4 separate regions of the Homo sapiens genome follow, and all the other regions are linked to region 1. Evidence: promoter capture Hi-C in 16 types of primary human blood cells and fetal thymus (Javierre and others, 2016). All regions are on one chromosome and are shown on one strand. Each heading gives the region's core, a stretch centred on a gene start or on the middle of the fragment in contact. The rest is flanking DNA. Distances are from core to core; before and after follow the strand shown. Region 1 holds the start of BLACE (B cell acute lymphoblastic leukemia expressed). Region 2 has its middle 90 kb from the start of HTR5A-AS1. Region 3 has its middle 110 kb from the start of HTR5A-AS1. Region 4 has its middle 72 kb from the start of HTR5A-AS1.

Region 1 (2,700 bases), core at 135-2,634:
AGAGAAACACAACACCTGCACTCTCTAACCATTTCCTGAAAGACCCCTCTTGACACACCTTAGGGGCTTCAGGGCCACACTGCCTGGCACAGCTGGTTCCCAGTGTGGACCTGTCTCCACTGCCAGCCCCTGCCCCACCCTCTCCACCTGAGTCCTGATCCCTGGTGACCAAGAGAGGCTGTGCTGCTTCTGGCCTTCACAGTAAGCCAGATGGCCTGGGAAGCGAGACTCTCTCTGCCTCCCAGCACTCCAGGCTGCAGTTGCTGTTTCATCATCCATGGGTGTAAAACACCAAGCAAGTGACATGATACAGAATGACCTCCCTGTGCTGGCAGTGGCACCACAGAAACAGGAAGACTCAGAGCCAGAAGCTGCCTGCGCAGATTGCCATTATGGAGCCTGGGAAATCAAGTCCTAGAAAGATTATCTGTTTTTTTTTTTTTTTTTGAGATAGGAGCTTGCTCTGTCGCCCAGGCTGGAGTGCAGTGGTGTGATCACTGCTCACTGCAGCCTCTGCCTTCTGGGCTCAAGCAATCCTCTAGCTTCATCCTCCCAAGTAGCTGGGACTACAGGCATGCGCCGCCATGCTTGGCTAATTTTTTAAACTTCTTGTAGAGACAAGGTCTCACTATGTTGCCCTGGTTGGTCTTGAACTCCTTGGCTCCAGTGATCCGCCTGCCTCCAGTGATCCTCCCACCTCGGCCTCCCAAAGTGCTGGGATTACAGGCATGAGCCACTGTACCTGTCCTAGAAAGATTAAAGGATACCTCTACGTCTACCTCTACCTCTACCTCTACCTCTACCTCTACCTCTACCTCTACCTCTAACCTCTAACCTCTAACCTCTAACCTCTACCTCTACCTCTACCTCTACCTCTCCCCACGGTCTCCTTCCACGGTCTCCCTCTGATGCCGAGCCGAAGCTGGACTGTACTGCTGCGATCTCGGCTCACTGCAACCTCCCTGCCTGATTCTCCTGCCTCAGCCTGCCGAGTGCCTGTGATTGCAGGCACGCGCCGCCACGCCTGACTGGTTTTCGTTTTTTTTTGGTGGAGACGGGGTTTCGCTGTGTTGGCCGGGCTGGTCTCCAGCTCCTAACCGCGAGTGATCCGCCAGCCTCGGCCTTCCGAGGTGCTGGGATTGCAGACGGAGTCTCGTTCACTCAGTGCTCAATGGTGCCCAGGCTGGAGTGCAGCGGCGTGATCTCGGCTCACTACAACCTACACCTCCCAGCCGCCTGCCTTGGCCTCCCAAAGAGCCGAGATTGCAGCCTCTGCCCGGCCGCCACCCCGTCTGGAAAGTGAGGAGCGTCTCTGCCTGGCCGCCCATCGTCTGAGAGGTGGGGAGCACCTCTGCCTGGCAACCACCCCGTCTGAGAAGTGAGGAGCCCCTCCGTCCAGCAGCCACCCCGTCTGGGAAGTGAGGAGCGTCTCCGCCCGGCAGCCACCCCGTCCGGGGGGGAGGTGGGGGGGGTCAGCCCCCCGCCCGGCCAGCCGCCCCGTCCGGGAGGTGAGGGGCTCCTCTGCCCGGCCGCCCCTACTGGGAAGTGAGGAGCCCCTCTGCCCGGCCAGTCGCCCCGTCCAGGAGGGAGGTGGGGGGGTCAGCCCCCCGCCCGGCCAGCCACCCAGTCCGGGAGGGGGGAGGGGGGTCAGCCCCCTGCCCGGCCAGCCGCCCCGTCCGGGAGGGAGGTGGGGGGATCAGCCCCCCGCCTGGCCAGCCGCCCCGTCCGGGAGGTGAGGGGCGCCTCTACCCGGCCGCCCCTACTGGGAAGTGAGGACTCCTCTGCCCGGCCAGCCGCCCCGTCCGGGAGGGAGGTGGGGGGTCAGCCCCCCGCCCGGCCAGCCGCCCCGTCCGGGAGGGAGGTGGGGGGATCAGCCCCCCGCCTGGCCAGCCGCCCCGTCCGGGAGGTGAGGGGCGCCTCTGCCCGGCTGCCCCTACTGGGAAGTGAGGAGCCCCTCTGCCCGGCCAGCCGCCTCGTCCGGGAGGGAGGTGGGGGGTCAGCCCCCCGCCCGGCCAGCCGCCCCGTCCGGGAGGGAGGTGGGGGGATCAGCCCCCCGCCCGGCCAGCCACCCCGTCCGGGAGGTGAGGGGCGCCTCTGCCCGGCCGCCCCTACTGGGAAGTGAGGAGCCCCTCTGCCCGGCCAGCCGCCCCGTCCGGGAGGGAGGTGGGGGGTCAGCCCCCCGCCCGGCCAGCCGCCCCGTCCGGGAGGGAGGTGGGGGGATCAGCCCCCCGCCCGGCCAGCCGCCCCGTCCGGGAGGTGAGGGGCGCCTCTGCCCGGCCGCCCCTACTGGGAAGTGAGGAGCCCCTCTGCCCGGCCAGCCGCCCCGTCCGGGAGGGAGGTGGGGGGGTCAGCCCCCCGCCCGGCCAGCCGCCCCGTCCGGGAGGTGAGGGGCGCCTCTGCCCGGCCGCCCCTACTGGGAAGTGAGGAGCCCCTCTGCCCGGCCAGCCGCCCCGTCCGGGAGGGAGGTGGGGGGGTCAGCCCCCCGCCCGGCCAGCCGCCCCGTCCGGGAGGTGAGGGGCGCCTCTGCCCGGCCGCCCCTACTGGGAAGTGAGGAGCCCCTCTGCCCGGCCAGCCGCCCCGTCCGGGAGGGAGGTGGCGGGGGTCAGCCCCCCGCCCGGCCAGCCGCCCCGTCCGGGAGGTGAGGGGCGCTTCTGCCCGGCCGCCCCTACTGGGAAGTGAGGAGCCCCTCTGCCCGGCCAC
Region 2 (2,700 bases), core at 164-2,663, 210 kb after region 1:
ACTATTAAAAACTATTTGATAGTTTTGAATATTCAAATATAATTTTTGAATATTGAATTTTTAATTTTTACTATTGAATCTACTATTCAATACCAAAAACTTTGCAATCCATATAAAACAGAAGGGAATATTCTATTCAATCATTCAATTATTGCTCCTTTTAAAATTGTATTTGCAAGCTCAGCATGTTAGCCTCAGGAAAATAAGCTAATAAGTTGTTAAGTCACTTAAAAAAAGTCTTAAAGCCAAAGTTATTTGAATAACCAAGAAGAACAGGAATGGATAGGAACAGTTTTAACATGTGGTCAGTGTTCTTCATACAGAGAATGACTAGATAGTTAGACTGTGTTGTTTCATGTATGTCTTAGAATGCTGCCCTTTCATTACAAGAGGGCTTTGCTAGAGGTACTGTCTGCCTATTCTGAGTTCCTTGCATTAGTCATTAGTAGTTCAAGCAAAGTAGATGGATCTCAAATAAACTGAGTTCGATTTTTCTGAGCAAAGATGTGTGTGTGTGTGTGTGTGTATCTGTGTGTGCATATGTGCATGTGTCTGTGTGTCTGAAGTTGTATGACATTGAAAAGGTGAGGACACTGAGAATCCTGTTTTCAGAGAAAACTTCTGAATTCTTTCTGATCTTTCTCTCTGAAGCTAGAAGTTTTTCCTTTGAACTGGTACATGTTAGACATTCAAAAAACATTAGAGGATCCTGGGCTGATCAAGAAAATGTATATGAACAACACTCTTCTTGTTAAGGCGATGCATGAGCCTCCAAGGAGATGGCTTCCTTCTGCGATTTTTCAACACAAAGCCTTTCTTGCCACTTGAGTAAACACTGGCCGTCAGCTTCTGAGTCAGGAGTGTTTTGTGTTTGTGGGATATGGCCCAGGTGTCATCATAGGTCATAAAGATGAGACAAGGACATGAGTTGTGCGGGATGTGATGAAAAAGTCTGTAGCACATGGGAGCTGTCTGGATCAGGTCTTCTTCCCCTGAGTTCCTGCCTCTCCCTTGACATCTGTGATGTGTTCCACCATTGGGAGGGAAGCTGGTCTAACCTCACCGCAGGCAGCATTGACCTGTGCAGCCCTGATGTGCTACTGAGCAGTTTATTTCAAGTGTGTTTGATATAAATGTAGGTGTTCATTTCAGTATCTTATGGGATAGTAATACTTTTCCCATATAACAGAGTCACTATCATAAATTCTGGAGGAATGGGTATTAGTATACATTAATCAATTTGAGAGGCACTGACTGATTTCTTTTCTATTTTTAAAGGTGTTCACATAGAGACAATACCTTTGCCCAAGCCAGTGCTAGGTTTTAGAAGCTTGTGGATTTCTGCATTAATAATTCATCTCCACAATAGAAAGTTCTTCTATCCAATAGATGATCCCATTACATTTATTTATTACAAATTATTACAATGGACTAGAGACAGCCACTTTGAGGGAAGATAGGACATATCTATGATAACCTAGTGGTTGAAAGCTTCACTGATACTTTAGAAATGTTATTTATATAAGAAGTCTCATTAAAATGGGAGATCCTAAGTCCACAAGGAAGAGGGTGCCTAGAGACACAAGCAGACTGGAGTTCCATGCATAGAGAATGGCTAGAAAGCCATTTTTGACTAATCTTAACTTTGAGATCTTGGTCATTTGCACCAATGCTGGTTGACTAAGTCCATGGGCACACAATGGGGATGGCTGCTTGGGCTGAGAGTCTGGAGAATGTGGCTCTTATGGCTGCTTCCAACTCTGAGATTCTGTGGCCTGGGAGCCAAGGGAGGGGGAGTTAGGAATAGGTTAGATAGATGAACTCAATAAAAGAACCCAACAAAGGCGGGAGATTTCCAAGATAAGTTAAAGGTGAGAATAGTCTCCTTAACAGGTCAGGCAAACAGCTGATGTTTTAAGACTGAAGTTCTTCAGTTCCAAACTAGGTTTTCCAGCAGAAACCAAACAGAAGTAAAATCTTGCTCCAGGTATCCTGTATTGAGGGACAAAAGTTGGTAGAATAAAAGGAAGGGGACCCTGGGTTATCCTAGACAAATTGTGAATTAATGCAAGGAAAATGATAGAAAGTCTAGTAATTCAGATGGTGAAAATTAAAATATAGGACATAGTTACCTATATTTTAACTATAAAATGTAGTTTCATACCTGTTATGTTGCACAAATAAAAATTATACTACCAAAATTTGGTGGAATTGCAATGAAATTGGCACGCTTATGTATGACTATTAGTAGTATATACCAATATAATTTTGGGACAGACTATTTATTATATAAAAGCCCACAAAATATTCAAATAATTTGAAATAGTAATCTTACTCTTGTAAATGTAGAACAAAAAATAATTCAAAGTGATCATTACAATGATGACTCTCAGGCAGCACAATATTTCATGACTGTTATTGTTATTGGAGATTTTAAAGCCAAAATATGCTCCTCAGGGGAACAATGTACTCTTGTCTATCTCTAGATGTGTGTGCTTTTTCCTTCTGCAATAATCAAATTATAACAGAACTGAGAGAGAGACAGTCAACATTGTAATGATCACTTTGAATTATAGATATAGATATATAGAGGGATAGATATCCGTATTTATCAATCTATACATATGTGTACATGTATGTATGTGTATGTATATATGTATGTGTATGTATATACGTATATACATATGTATATACGTATAT
Region 3 (2,700 bases), core at 46-2,545, 190 kb after region 1:
CCAAACATAGATTGGTGTGGCCTGATTTTGGACTTTATCTAAGTAAAATAATAGAAAGTGTACTTTTTAAATATTTGGCTCCTTCTGCTCATATGTCTTTGGGACTCATCCACGATGTGGTGTGTCTCAGTACTTCATTTGCTTGTGTTGCTGCAGAATAGTCCATTGCATGAATAGACAGTACCACAGTTTATTTATCCATTCTATTGTTCTAACCATTTGATTTTTTTTTTCCTGTTTTGGCCTATTAGGGATGGTGCTGCTGTGCAATTCCTATACATGTGTTTTGGTGAATATATTTATGCATTTTGCTATTGGATGTACACCTAGGAGTGAAACTACTCAGGCAGAGGTTTATGTGTGTTCAGCCTTAGTAGATACTGCTAAACAATTTTCCAAAGTGACTGTAGCAATTCATACCCAGTAGTAGTGGATGAATGTTCTAAATTCTTCACAAACGTTTTGTCTGTCTTTTTCATTTTACCATTCTGCTGGTTGTAAAATGGTATCTCACTGTGGTTTTAATTTGCATGTCTCTGATGGCTAATGAAGTTGAACAATTTTTCATATGTGTATTGGCCATTTGAATATACTCTTTTATGAAGTTCTTATTTCTCAATTTTTATATTGGTTTCCTTACCATTTCCTTATTGATTTATAGACCATTAAAATATATGTATGTTCTCAATATCAGCCCTGTATGTGTTGCAATATCTTCCCTTACTCTGTGGCTTGTCTTTTTTCTTTCTTAATGTTCCTTTTCTATAATCAGAGGTTCCTAATTTGAATGTAGTTCAATTTATCATCTTTTTCCTTCATGATCAGTATTTTGTGTGTCCTGCTTAAGAAATATTTGCCTGTTCCAACAACAGAAAGGAATTGCCCTAGGCTTTCTTCTAATTATATTACTATTTCATCTTTTATACTTAGATCCACAATCCTTCTATAATTGATTTTTTAATAGTGTGTAAAGTAGAGGTCAAAATTTATTTTGTTTTTTCCTTTGGATGTCCATTTGACCCAGCATCATTTATCGAAAAAGCCATCTTTTCTCTACTGCATTGTAGTGTTACCTCTGCCACAAAATAGGTGCCTGCACAAATATAGGGCTGTGGCAGATGGTCTTCTGAGATGGCCACTCTGCACATACATGCACCCCACTCATCAGGACAGGAAGGCTCTCTCACCATTTCACTTCTCCCTGACTCCAAGCAGGATTATAGCCTATCTTGACAACAGAGCTTGGATGTGGGTGCTGCTGTTCCTATTGTGGGCCAGGCCTCAAGACATCTGGTAGCTTCCACTTTTATGGTAGGGGAAAGCAGCTGTTGCATGAAAAGTCTGACTGCCCTGGGAACATCACGCTAGGAGGCATCCCAGATTAGCCACCCAGAGAAGTGAAGAGAAAAACTGACATCAAGAACTGAAGCCCTAGATACATCATTGCCGTTAGTTGTTCCAGCCAATTCTCTGATGTTTGGACTATTGCAGGGAAGGACCAGGCATTGTGGAGCAAAGTGGACTGCCCCTGTTGTTGTTCTGAATTTCTGACCCAGATAAGTAGTGAGGAAGTTTGTCACACAGCGATAGGCAACTGACACAGTTCTGCTCCTGGACTCTGCATTTTAGTCACCAGTCTAGTTACTATCCTTTGTCAGCACCACAATGTCTTTATCACTACAGTTCTGAAATAGGTCTTGGCATCTGGTCAAGCAGACCCTCCAGGTTGGTTCTACTTCTTCAAGACTGACTTCACTATTTTTGGTCTTTTAGATGTCCATAGACACTTTAGAATCAGCCTGTGAGTTAAACAGACAAACAAATGTCTAGGCTTTTTATTGGTATTGCACTGAGTTGGTAAGTCAATATTGGGAGCTTTGACATATGTATAATATTGAGTCTTCCAATCCATGAACATGGTATATCTCTCTATTTATTGGGTCTTATTTAATTTCAGTAATGTTTTGTAGTTTTCAGTGTATGTATTTTGCATATCTTTAACTAGATTTATTCCTAGGTATTTGAAGTTTCTTATTCTGCTTTGTGTGCATTTTATTTATTTTCTACTCATTTTGCTAGTATACAGAAATACAACTGATTATCATATATGGCCTTTTATTTAGTAACCTTGTTTCTTAATCCATTTCATGCTGCTATAAAAGAATACCAGAGACTAGGTAACTTGTAAAGAAAACCATCTTATTTCCCACAGTTCTGGAGGCTAAGAAGTCCAATGTCAAGTGGCTGACATCTGGCAGGGCCTTCTTGCTGTGTCATTCTGTGGCATAAGGCAAGAGAGGGTGGGGGGTGGAGATAACTCTTTCTTTTATAAAGAACCCACCCCACAATAATAAACCCATCCCTCAATAATGGCATTAATCCATGAGGGCTCTGCTCTCGTGGCTTAACCACCTCTTTAAATGTCCCATTTCTTAACACTGTTGCATTAAAGATTAAATTTTCAATACATGCTTCTTGACAGACATATTAAACCATAACACCTTGCTAAATTCACTTATTGATTCTAATAGTCTATAGATTCTTTTGGAGTTTCTGCATGTGCAATGATGTCATTTGTGAATAATGACATTACAAATTTTACTTCTTTTGTCCCATTTTTTAGGCCTTTTATTACCATTTCTTCCCTTATTTCACTGAATAGAATCTCTAGTATAATGTTAAGTAGGAGTGGTGATGTAA
Region 4 (2,700 bases), core at 139-2,638, 220 kb after region 1:
TTTCTTGTGCTCTCTCTCCTGTCACCATACAAAGAAGGTCCTAGCTTCCCCTTCTGCCATGAGTGTAAGTTTCCTGAGGCCTCCCCTGCCATGCAGAATGTGAGTCAATTAAACTTCTTTTGTTTATACGTTACCCAGACTCAGATAGTATCTTTATAGCAGCATAAAAATGAACTAATAGACATGGCAATCAGTTACCACAAGGAAACAAAGATAATTCCAGATGCTCTTACTCCCAACGCCTGGGTGCTTCCTGGACACCCTCATTTTAATGTCCCTTTCAGGGGTGGATGCAGGCATCCAAAACACGTGGCTTGCTAGAGGATGCCTCCAGCTCTCCTGCTCTGGTGGAGATCCTCAGAACCAGCATGTAGCTAGCTGCAGGCAGCACCTGCCAGGTGGTCAGAAGGGGCTGAGGGTGCACGGGCAGCCGGACATCTCTCGGGGTCTGCAGACCAGGAGTCCGTGCTTCCTGCCAGAACTGGGGAGGTCCTTCAGCATTCAGCCTGAGACTTGGCTCTTTCCCCCAGTGTGGTGAGCAGCAGTCTGACCCCACTCTTTCATATTCAGCTGCTGACAGCATTGATGTTTCTCCCTCCTCCCCTTCACCCCACATCTGGGCAGCTGTTGAGAAAGCCAGGGGTGGGGGGTGTTTCCCTCCTCTGGCACTAGTGGGAGATTAAAACCCCACAAATCTCTCCCATTAGGAACTCTAGCCCCAGCCCACCATCAGTATGAATTGTCTCTCATTTTCTGTATATGATACTCTGATAGCTGGGGCCCTGCTGACCCTGGGGAGCTGCTCCTCTCACAATCAGCCAATTCCCAGATAGTGAACCATCGCCCACCCCACACAGGCTTTCCATGTGCAAACCCTGCAATCCATGTGCAAAGGAGGAGCCCACACCTGCCACCTCCTCTGTGGGCTCACACTCCCGGCCGCTGTCCACCCACACTTGTTACCCCAGGGCAGGGACCAGACCCAGGGCAACTGCTGTCCCCAGAGGGCTAGAATTATTCAAGCTGGGCAGTCCTGGGCCTGCTGACCCTGCCTCAGCCTCCCTTATCGTGGAAACCACAATAGAAGCTCCTTCTCACTTTCCCTGCCCCTCAGCATCCCGACCAACCCTGGCACATCCCCAGGTGGCCCCCATGGCGTGGCCGGACCCCTCCTCTAGGGATCTGTGAGTAACACACCAGCTTTCCAATGGCAGCCGTTCCTAGTTCTGACCTGAATAATAATAAAGTCTACATCAAACACTTCCTAACCACAGTGAAACCCAGGCCAGTCTCTTGTCCCTACTTCCAAGCCTTTTTACACGAGCTAGAGGCCGGCCAGCTCTTCCCAGAGTCCTCAGTTACGGGAGTCATAAACTTTCCTCGCCCTTCTGTGTGTGATGTCACCTGAAGCATGTTTTGGGTGGGGTCGTCTGCCTCTGCAGAAGACTGTCCCACTGGGCTCACCATACTGTGCCCCTACAGCAAAACTTCCGTAAGAGCCACACTTCATTTCTGTTACAATTTTTAAGACACCAGTTAAACCGACCAGCCACATCATCTTCGACAATTACTCTGGGTCCAATCAATAAAATGGGAACAAATTGGCCTCTTTCTCAGATGCTTTGTAAGGAAGTAAATGGATATTTTGTGTAAAATATTTAGCATAATGACAGGCATCATTCACTCATTCAATTAATAATTCATCCAATCACTTGTTTTTTATTAAGTAAAATTGTAATTCCTAGCACAGGTAAGGCTGTGGAACGCCTTCAGGAGGACTTGTTACGGCAGACACAGGCAGCACGCCTTCATGCCCTGTGCTCTGCAAGACCAGTCCCTGGAAGTCAGAAACTTTGTACCAAGCCTGGGCATGAAGATCAGAGACTGCTCTTCACACACTCAGCTCTTACTGCGTGTCTGTGGGGTCAATGAAAACACTTAGGGCTACACCAAGTGGATTATATTTGATGTAAACCAGGTGAAATGTGCAGAATTTTGAGGGGTCTTTTGCTACAATAAAGTGAGGGTGAGGAACAATTTAGAATTTCTGCTGAATTTCTGTAACTTGAGGAGGTTTTCTTGTTATTAAGACATTGAGCCAGAGAGCAGCTCCACCAGGCTGATCAGAGAGCCCTTTCCCTACTCCTCTGACCCCAAGGGTATGTCAGGGCAGCCTTAGGAAAGGAGTCCCCGACTTTGAGGGGACAGACAGAACACAGATCTGGAGAGCACTGACATGCACTGACATGGACACAGTTGCCTGGGAGCCCGGGAGGGTGTTAACAACCCGTAGTCAGGGAGAACCCAGGCAGCAGGTGTGGAAAGGCTGAGTTTGGCCAAAAGTTCCGAGGGTCTGAATGTTGCCTTCTCAGAAATCATGCGTAGGGGCACACATTAAAATTCTCCCTGTAACTTTCTTATGCTATCCAATAGCAAAACTACCCAAAGAGCCACACTTTTCATATTGTTACAATTTGTGAGACACCAGTTAAATTGACCAGCTGTGGTATCTTCGGCAGTTACTTACTATTTTTATGCCTCTGGCCAAGTGTGTATGAGTGTGTGTGTATACACGCATGTGTGTGTGTGTACATGCATGTGTGTGTATGCACTGTGTGCATGTGTGTGTGCGTGTGTGTCTGTGCCTGTGCATGAACACGCATGTGTGTGTGCGTGTGTGTGTGTGTGCAGGTGCATGCA

What was found. Contacts are between HindIII fragments. The CHiCAGO score rates a contact against its expected background, and 5 or more counts as called.
Region 2: a contact is called between a fragment that was not itself captured here and the fragment with the promoter of BLACE in region 1, in 7 of 17 cell types (total CD8 T cells, activated CD4 T cells, non-activated CD4 T cells and 4 more). The highest score is 8.5, in total CD8 T cells.
Region 3: a contact is called between a fragment that was not itself captured here and the fragment with the promoter of BLACE in region 1, in 8 of 17 cell types (neutrophils, M2 macrophages, activated CD4 T cells and 5 more). The highest score is 8.0, in neutrophils.
Region 4: a contact is called between a fragment that was not itself captured here and the fragment with the promoter of BLACE in region 1, in 2 of 17 cell types (neutrophils and total CD8 T cells). The highest score is 6.8, in neutrophils.

The regions. Positions count from the first base shown.
Region 1 is chr7:155,366,617-155,369,316 of GRCh38, reverse strand. It overlaps BLACE (B cell acute lymphoblastic leukemia expressed), which reads left to right and starts at 1,384. Exons shown (of 6, transcript NR_103545.1): 1 at 1,384-1,508. All of the region lies in intron 2 of LOC105375593 (a long non-coding RNA gene), which reads right to left. The HindIII fragment of the contact is 7,901 bases long and covers 1-2,700 here.
Region 2 is chr7:155,160,119-155,162,818 of GRCh38, reverse strand. No RefSeq gene overlaps it. Among named protein-coding and RNA genes, the nearest start is that of HTR5A-AS1, 90 kb to the right of the region's middle. The HindIII fragment of the contact is 161 bases long and covers 1,333-1,493 here.
Region 3 is chr7:155,176,829-155,179,528 of GRCh38, reverse strand. No RefSeq gene overlaps it. Among named protein-coding and RNA genes, the nearest start is that of HTR5A-AS1, 110 kb to the right of the region's middle. The HindIII fragment of the contact is 2,884 bases long and covers 1-2,700 here.
Region 4 is chr7:155,142,275-155,144,974 of GRCh38, reverse strand. No RefSeq gene overlaps it. Among named protein-coding and RNA genes, the nearest start is that of HTR5A-AS1, 72 kb to the right of the region's middle. The HindIII fragment of the contact is 3,447 bases long and covers 1-2,700 here.